Regions from separate parts of the Homo sapiens genome. Here regions 2 and 3 are each linked to region 1. The links are contacts of gene promoters, found by promoter capture Hi-C in human tissues and cell types (Jung and others, 2019). All regions are on one chromosome and are shown on one strand. Each heading gives the region's core, a stretch centred on a gene start or on the middle of the fragment in contact. The rest is flanking DNA. Distances are from core to core; before and after follow the strand shown.

Region 1 (2,993 bases), core at 315-2,814:
TAAAAAAGGGAAGATATTGTAGAAGATTTCACACACACACGCGTGTGTGGGAGACAACTAAAGGTATTGAAGGTACTAATTAATTAGATTTCCAAAATTTTCTACAGAGAGTTAATTATCACCAAAATGTGAATGGTACATACAAAACCTGGCATTTTCTTGTGATAAGTTTACATTTTTAGGAGAGTGGAGCTTTCAATCTGCCCTTTTCTCCTTTGTTTTTGTAGTTTTCACCAAAGATGATCAACTAGAAATGTTAAGTGGCTATGCAAGCAAAAGCATAGATAGGTTAAAAAAAAGGATCAGCTGGCTGGGCAGGGTGGCTCATGTCTATAATCTCAGCATTCTAGGACAGTGATGTGGGAGGATTATTTGAGGCTAGGAGTTCCAGTTCGAAACCAGCTTCGTAAACATAGCAAGACCCAGTCTCTACCAAAAAAAAAAAAAAAAAAAAAAAAAAAAAAAATATATATATATATATACACACACACACACACATATGTACACATACATATATATACATATATATGTATATATAGAACACATGGCAAGAGCAGGAAATGGGAAGACTACCTTTTTTCTGGCAGCTATGTGTTGTTTTGTTCGAAAGATGGCAAGTGTACAACCAAACCAATCCACTTGCTTACAGAAAGAATGTTTAGTGTAGTTAAGACTAATTTGACAACAGATAAAACAGTCTGTCAGCTATTACAAAGTAATCAGCTGAACACTAATGCTGTTCTGTCTGCTCACAAGAGATAAAGATACCCTCTCATGGAATAAACACCTTGCTTAGAATTCATATAACAAAGAAGTAACCTTATAACTGCTCTCTAGTCTGCCTTATTTGTGTCATAGAGTAAGATATTCCTTGAAAGCCCATTAAGTGGAATAGACTTTCTGAAAATAAGAGTTCTTTACCTCAGTCCTCCTCTAATTTGGTTGAGAGGAGGTAATGAAAATGGGGACAGGATAAAAGGTGGCAACTAAATTTAAAGCACAGAAGAAATGATTTCCTTCTAGCTATGAGAATAGTCAAATTGAGCTTGCCAGGCTGTCTCATTCCTAACATGTAATTCATGATTTAGCCACTAAATTTCTAAGGAGATCATAAGAAATTAAGAAAAACGTTTAAGTCTAGCCTCTGCGTGGTAGACAGGTATGGGGAGGGAGAATGCTTTTCCCCTCCCAGTAATAAAAAAAAAAAAAAAAAAAATATATATATATATATATATATATATATATATATATATATATATATATATATATATAGTTTTACTAGGTTTTCATGGATAAGTTTTTAAATGTAAGACAGGAAAGGGATCTATTTGATGTCTATCTTCAGATATATTGGCAGTTTTCCTTAAGCTATTTAGTTCCTCATCTGTTGCTTTTTCATTTTGTATACTGCAAGTTCCCAGGCAACTCGAATTTGCAAACACAGCCATGGATACACTATTTACCTTACAGTAGTTTCCTGGGAATCTAAGTCTGGTTTTTGTTATTCTTCCCTCCCCTCCACTGCATAATCATGTATAACTAGCAACATTTATGGTTATAGGTTGATTTCCTAAGTGTGGCTGATGGTAGCCTCTAGTTTGAAGTGAGGGAAGAATGAGTAGTCAGGAACTGGTCACTTTGAATGTGGGAGGGAAGATATTCACGACAAGGTTTTCTACGATAAAGCAGTTTCCTGCTTCTCGTTTGGCACGCATGTTAGATGGCAGAGACCAAGAATTCAAGATGGTTGGTGGCCAGATTTTTGTAGACAGAGATGGTGATTTGTTTAGTTTCATCTTAGATTTTTTGAGAACTCACCAGCTTTTATTACCCACTGAATTTTCAGACTATCTTAGGCTTCAGAGAGAGGCTCTTTTCTATGAACTTCGTTCTCTAGTTGATCTCTTAAACCCATACCTGCTACAGCCAAGACCTGCTCTTGTGGAGGTACATTTCCTAAGCCGGAACACTCAAGCTTTTTTCAGGGTGTTTGGCTCTTGCAGCAAAACAATTGAGATGCTAACAGGGAGGATTACAGTGTTTACAGAACAACCTTCAGCGCCGACCTGGAATGGTAACTTTTTCCCTCCTCAGATGACCTTACTTCCACTGCCTCCACAAAGACCTTCTTACCATGACCTGGTTTTCCAGTGTGGTTCTGACAGCACTACTGATAACCAAACTGGAGTCAGGTATTTTGTACTTTGCAGTATTTCTCTTGTATACCAGTTTGTGATGTTTTCTCTAAAAACTTGAAGTTCCTCAGGCCTGTAACTTCTGGAAAAGATGATTATTCAAAATAATGTTTTGGGGTAACCAGTGGAGTTGGGTAGAATGACCAAATAATTATTTTCCAAACTGGGATACTTTTTAGAGTGAAAGGGGCTATTATTAGGTGGGACAAAAGGAATAAATGAAGACTGCCCAGAAAAAACTGAGACTATGGACATTCAAATCATGGGAGAAAATAATTTTGTAGATTATGTTCCATTGCTAATGAATTTGACTTAGAAAAGAATTGCCTTATTTTTAAGAGATTGTTTCAGTGGTTCACATAAAGGCTCGCTCACTGGTTTCTCTTGAGTTCCTTACACACTATATAAGTTGTTCTTTCAGTTTTATGATTCAACTACTGTTTTTCCTTCAGCTGACTTTATTTTTAAACACCCTTAAAGACAGATATATCTCATGGCAAATTTGGTATCCTGTTACAGCCTTGGCTCTTAAACAACTCAAAATATTGGGATAGGCTGTCAGTATGTTAAGGATAGTTGCTCCTGAGTCAATTCTTCACTTACTCCCTCTGTTGTTCTTGGCTGGATCCTAACGCTGATTTCCACTCTGCTGTCACAAACATTTTTCCCCCCGTAAAATGTCTTAATGCTGTCCTACCATTATTTTACCAACTGTGAAAGCTGGCTTTAATTTTTAGGAGGAAAAGAAAAGCCTGCATGTGTTCTTTATTGGTATCATTTAAAATATACTTTTTTTTT
Region 2 (2,993 bases), core at 192-2,691, 660 kb after region 1:
CACACACACAAAGAGTTGCATAATGTTCCCTCTTAAGGTCTCATTGCTGCTTCATAAATCCAAGCTAATTCATGTTGCATGGGGTAGAGCATATAATAGAAAATAAGGAAGCACATTTGGAGTCCAAATATTAGAATTAAAATTCTGCCCCTGTTGATTTCTAATCAGATAGACTGTAAGTGGCCTGAACATTTCAAGCCTCAGTTTCCTTATTCACAAATGAGAGGAACTTTATGAGATTTAGTTGAAAATCAAATAGTGACAAATGAAAGCACAACAGGATGCTTAATAGCTGTGAAGGGCAGTGCACATGAAAGGGTCATCATCAACGCCCAGCTTGTGGCTGACCACTCCTCAGGGGCCAGCTCTTTCCCATGAAAAACCAAGGAGTCCTTGTACTGATTTTTTAAAATTTATGAAACATGAGCTCATTGGGAAATCTTGAACAAACAGAAGCTTTCCCACTCTTTTAATTCAAAACATTTCTAAAATATTCATTTGGCCCATTTTCTGGCCTTATTAAGTTAAACATAAGGGACAGAACAGAGTATTGATTTCAGCACTTTCAGGAGTTCCAGGCTTGCTGATCAACACCAGAGACAGGAACAGGGAAGAGGAGGTTGCACTGGGAAGGAGGCAGAGAAGACACTCGGGTCCAGGGAGACCAAGACACATCCTGTAGACTCATCATGTGTCTGTGCACACCCAGTTAGGACGGCGCTGAGTGCCCAATCCCTTCAAGCCTGCTCCTCTCCTAGTTCTCTCTGATTCAGTCAATGGCAGTTCCCTCTTCCGATAGCTCCAGTGAAGGCCTCGGGAGCCCTCCTGGGCTCTTCTGTCACACCCTTCACGTTTGCTTCATCAGCACAGTCTTGGGCTTTACGTTGATGTCAAACTGAGAATCCCACTACTCCTCTCCACTTCACTGCCCCACTCCATCCAAGCTGCCATCCTTTCTCCATGGATTGGTTCAATAGCCTCAAAATGGATCTCCTTACTCTGCCCCCAACCTTCCCATTCCTCTTGAGTTTATTCTCAACAGGGTACCGAGAGCGATCCTGCTGAAGTGTGTATCAGATCAAGTCAGTCCTCTGTTCAAACTCTCCAAGAGCTTCCCCACTTTAGAAGCAAAAATCCTTACGATGATCTGCAAGATTCTCCACACTGCGGCCCCTTGTTTTTTCTGTGCCTCGCCTTAATCCCCTCCCCTACCCCTGGCCTCTCTTAACTCTTTTCTGGCCTCTTCACTGTTCCTTAAACGTACAAGGTAACCTGTTGCCTCGGGGCCTTTGCAGTTGCTGTTCTCTTTCTTGGAATGTTCTTCCCCCAGACACCTGCAAGGCTGGCTCCCTCATCATCTCCTTTCGGTCTGGATTCAAATGTTACTTTCTCAGTGAAGCCTTTCTTGACCACATGGCCTAAAATAGTAACCTGCTCTCCACTCTCGCTCTTCCACATATTCTTTCTATAACTGTTTTCTGCTTCATTTGTTATTAGCATTTAGGATTATCTGATATGCTATATATTTGACTTATTGTTTTATTTTTCTTCCCTATAAAAATATAAGCTCTATGAGAGTAGGAAGCTTACATTTTGTCCAGGACAGTGCCTAACACAAAGTAAGTACTTAATAAACAATTTTTAACAGATGAATGATTGAAATGACTAAACAAAAATAAAAACCCTGACCACAGTTTTTCTTTTTTCTTTTTTTGGAGACAGTATCTCACTCTGTTACCTAAGCTAGAGTGCAATCATAGCTCATTGCAGCCTTGATTCCTGAGGCTCCTGTGATTCCTGCCCCCACCTCAGCCTCCAAAGTTGCTGGGGCTACAGGCATGCACCACCACACCTGGCTAACTTTTATGTAGAGATGTAGTCTCACTGTGTTACCCATACTGATTTCAAATCCTGGCCTCAAGCAATCCTCCAGCCTCGACCTCCCAAACTGCTGGGATTACAGGCATGAGCCACCACGGGCCCTTGACTACAGTAGTTTAAACAGAGAATAGAAATTTAACACAACTAGAAGTTTCAGATTAGGCAGTCTAGGGCTCTACAACGATGCCATCAGAGGCCCAGTTTTTTTTTTTTTGTTTCAGTTTTTTCATTTCATCATACTTAAGTAAGTTTTTGCCTCATGACTGCAAAATGGCTGCTGCCCCACCAGACAACACATGATCTTTCCAAAGCAGAGGGAAGAAATGGAATGCAAAATAGGAAATGGCAGCATTTGTATTAGGAAAGCAAAAGCTTTCCCAGAAACTCTCAACTTATATCTCATTAATCAGAACCTTTTGGCATGGCTACCCCTTGCTATAACACTAAACAAAAACTGAATTTTGTTAGTGAGGAATGGACACAGGGCAGGTGGTTCCCAGTATGTGTCATAGAGCATAAGTCTCTGTCACCCTTCAACTTCAGCTCATGCTTCTCTGCTTGGGATAAGGAGGAGCTTATGAGACCCCAAGTCAAGGGAATGAGTTTGGGGAAGCCTTAGATGTAACCGTTGCTGGAGAGAAAACCTGAGTCCTGCTCTGGCAGAAGAGCTGTGGAATCGGACACCTACAACACTTTGGCAGCCATGTTCCCAGTGTAGGAATGAAGGTGACCCAGAGGATCATGAAAATGTCCAGAAAAGGCTCACGTTGTCCTAAGAGACAGTCCCAGCAGCCTTCACTTCTTTGCTTCCAGGTGTTTTGGAGGTCCCACTGCAAATTATTCTAGCTGTGGTGACAATGATGCTTTTATTGCATGCCTTGACATACAGGAGAGACACCTGAGTTTAGACTTGGCTCACTGTACCCTCTGAACCAGTGGTTCTCAACAAGGCAAGATCAGCTTGGAGATTTGACAGCTTCCACCTGCCCCCAACTACAATAACACATAGAGAGCATAGAGCGTCTCCGTGCAAACCCACTCCCTTTTGCCTCAAGGGAAGAATATTTTCAACATCTCCCCAAGCAATTCTGATACTCAGAGAGGAGTATCTC
Region 3 (2,993 bases), core at 314-2,813, 600 kb after region 1:
TATAATTTCACTTATAAATAGTTCGCTGTGTATTGCTAACAGATAAGAAGTTAAAAAAATAACCACAGTACCATTATCCCACCTAGAAAATTAATAACAATTCCTTACTATAATCAATTATAATACTCATTTTCCAGTTTTCTCAATTGTCTTAAAAAATATCTTCTTTGGCTGGGTATGGTGGCTCCTGTCTATAATCCCAGTGCTTTGGGAAGCCTGAGGCATGAAGCTTGTTTGAGGCCCGGAGTTAGAGGCCAGCCTGGGCAACATAGTGAGATCCTATCTCTAAAAAAAAAAAGGAAAATCAGCCAGGTGTGGTGGCACATGCCTGTAGTGCCATCAGGGAGCTACTCAGGGGACTGAGGGAGGAGATTCCTTGAGCCCAGGAGTTTGAGGCTGCAGTGAGCTAATGGCACCACTGCATTCCAGCCTGGGCAACAGCGCAAGACCCTGTCTCTGAAACAAACAAATAAATAAATACACGTCTTCTTAGAGTTGGTTTGCTTGAATCATGTTTCTTGTTTTAAAGTTTCATTTCTCTTCTCCTTTCTCTCTCTCCCTTCTGTCTTCTACAAATATTTACCGTATCTTTCAAAGATACATATGGGAGCTGGGTGCAGTGGCTCATGCCTATAATCCCAGCACTTTGGGAGGCTGAGGCAGGAAGATCGCTTGAGCTCAGGAGTTTGAGACCAGCCTGAGCGACGTAGTGAAACCTCATCTCTACTGAAAACCTAATAAATTAGCTAGATGTGATGGTGCCTGCTTGTAGTCCTAGCTACTTGGGAGATGGAGGCAGGAGGATTGCTTGAGCCTAAGAGCTCAAGACTGCCGTGAGCTATGATCACACCACTGCACTCCAGCCCGGGTGACAGAGGGAGACCCTGTCTTTAAAAAAATACATATGGCATGGTAAAACGAGTTAATTCCAAAGTAAATGAGAAAATATGGCAAAAGGTGAGTACAAGAAGAAAACACAGATGGAGCCAAGATTGTGGTGAGGACACAAAGGCCAGCTATAAAATTGCATGTCCCTTTTCCCTAGAAGTCATGCATTTCCTTCTGAGCTTCCTAGCAGGAACTACAAAGAGGGCCCATGTGCACCTGTGGGACTCAGAGTTGATAACACACCATAAAACTGCTCAGGAGCAGCACAACCTGAGAGATATTTTCCCGTGGATCCTGACAAAGGAAACACTGAGTAATTGACCATACCATGTTCTCCATGGTAGCCTTGAACTCTAAGAAAATAAGTTTCATAAGGACATTTTAAAAAATCATTCTGAGTATTTTAATGTTACTTCTGTTAATCAAGTATGATTAACATGAATATTTCTTAGCATGAATATTTCTTAGAGTTCAGTCATGAATCCATGCCATTTCCTGTAGCAGCTGTTGGCTGATCTTACCTAGAGAAGCTCTCCAGCTCACCCAGTCCAGTCGGACTCTCCTGAATCACCCTGCCATGCTGATCCTCCTAAGGGACCACTTTAAGCCCATTGCTCCCTTGCTCAAGGATCTTCAATAGCTCCCTATTGACTACTCTAGGGTCAAGTGCAAGTTTCTCTGCTGCAGTGATGCCTTTCACCTCATAAAGAAAGTTTTGTTCAAGAGTAACAAAAGCTTCAGAGAGACAGAAGAAAATAAGATCTTAGAAATGCCTGTGTATTTAGTGACTAGAAGATTATGGAGTAATCTTCAAGAGAGGAGTTTCTAAAAATGAGTGGGGGAAAACTAGACTTAAATTTAGTGCCATTCTATTTAGTACTTGAATGCTCTTTGCTTGTTTTATGTGGGCTTTAGTTTTGTGATTCCACTGCCTGGGTTCCAGTCTTCGGCATGCTATTATTACAACTTTGGACAAATTACCTAAGCTTACTGTGACTCAGTTTCTTCATCTGTAAAATGGGGATAATGTAATAGAACCTCTCTAGGAGGCACTGTTGAGGAGACTGAGTGAGGCACACATAGGAAGTGCTCTGTAAGAGTTAGCTGTGCATCCTCCCGGCATGAGGTCATTGCCTCTTTGCAACAAGCACAGCAATTCTTCATGTTGACTAAAGCCTGAGTCTCTTTTATTTTCAAAATATATTCTCCCACCACTTCTCAATATTATCTCTGAAAAGAATATTTTAAAAGAGTAATGCACAAGAAACAGTTGTTCACTTTAGTTCTTTCATCTTAAAAACTATAGGAACAATAGGCCAAGAGAGAATTACAACTCAATTTAACAAAAATCTTATAATAACACATACACAATTATAAACTTTAAAAGGTTTGGGGGCTCATTGACTCTTCTGAGGCATCCTTTGTTCAGTGATACTGAACAGTGAGGAACTTTTTCTGAAGTGGCCGCCTGGCTTGTTTTGAGGTGAAGTAAGAAGGTGTGATGAAGATCCCAGCTCACACCAGCAGATGACTGCTGCTGTTTCAGGGCTCTCTGATACTGTCTCAGCTATGGAGATGGCACTTTTTGGACCACACCAAAGATTCTCAAACTTTATTGTCTAAAACTCCATTTGCATTCAGCCAAGACCCATGTTTCCATGAGATCATCTCTCATTAGATCACATTATTTATGAAATCCACTTTTAGAAGAAATGGATCCAGAAGCATTTCTTGGCCACATCAGGGTCTTCAGTCGAGTGGCAGAGTCAAGACATCTGGCCTCACTCTTCCCTGTGAAACTGGCTGAAAACAACTAAAATACCTTTTGAAAATTAGAAATGAAAATATACATCAAACTTGAAAATAGCCCAGCTCCTGGTAAGTGCAGTCGGGTCAAACTTGGTTAAGGGAGGCGGCTGGAAGCAGATCCGTGCCTCTGCAGAGCTCAGGTAACATGGAGCCTGCCGGAAGTAGGCCTGTCATTCAAAGGAGGGAAGCTATTATCCTTGTGGAACAGCCAGGTTTGAGTGGGAAGGTGAGCTTTGGGGACATCCCTGAGCCTTGTGAGAGGATACAGAGCTGAATGAAGAAAGATAAAGACATGC

What was found. Contacts are between HindIII fragments. The study calls those that stand out against the background at their distance.
Region 2: a contact is called between a fragment that was not itself captured here and the fragment with the promoter of KCNRG in region 1, in 4 of the 25 tissues and cell types used here (heart left ventricle, heart right ventricle, hippocampus and 1 more).
Region 3: a contact is called between a fragment that was not itself captured here and the fragment with the promoter of KCNRG in region 1, in 1 of the 25 tissues and cell types used here (mesenchymal stem cells).

What each region holds. Positions count from the first base shown.
Region 1 is chr13:50,013,880-50,016,872 of GRCh38, forward strand. It overlaps KCNRG (potassium channel regulator), which reads left to right and starts at 1,565. Exons shown (of 2, transcript NM_173605.2): 1 at 1,565-2,192. The coding sequence starts at 1,615. TRIM13 (tripartite motif containing 13) reads left to right here. Exons shown (of 2, transcript NM_213590.3): 2 at 1-2,993. The region is part of intron 10 of DLEU2 (deleted in lymphocytic leukemia 2); the gene reads right to left. The HindIII fragment of the contact is 16,932 bases long and covers 1-2,993 here.
Region 2 is chr13:50,672,223-50,675,215 of GRCh38, forward strand. No RefSeq gene overlaps it. Among named protein-coding and RNA genes, the nearest start is that of DLEU7-AS1, 130 kb to the right of the region's middle. The HindIII fragment of the contact is 4,162 bases long and covers 1-2,993 here.
Region 3 is chr13:50,614,334-50,617,326 of GRCh38, forward strand. No RefSeq gene overlaps it. Among named protein-coding and RNA genes, the nearest start is that of DLEU1-AS1, 88 kb to the left of the region's middle. The HindIII fragment of the contact is 3,508 bases long and covers 1-2,993 here.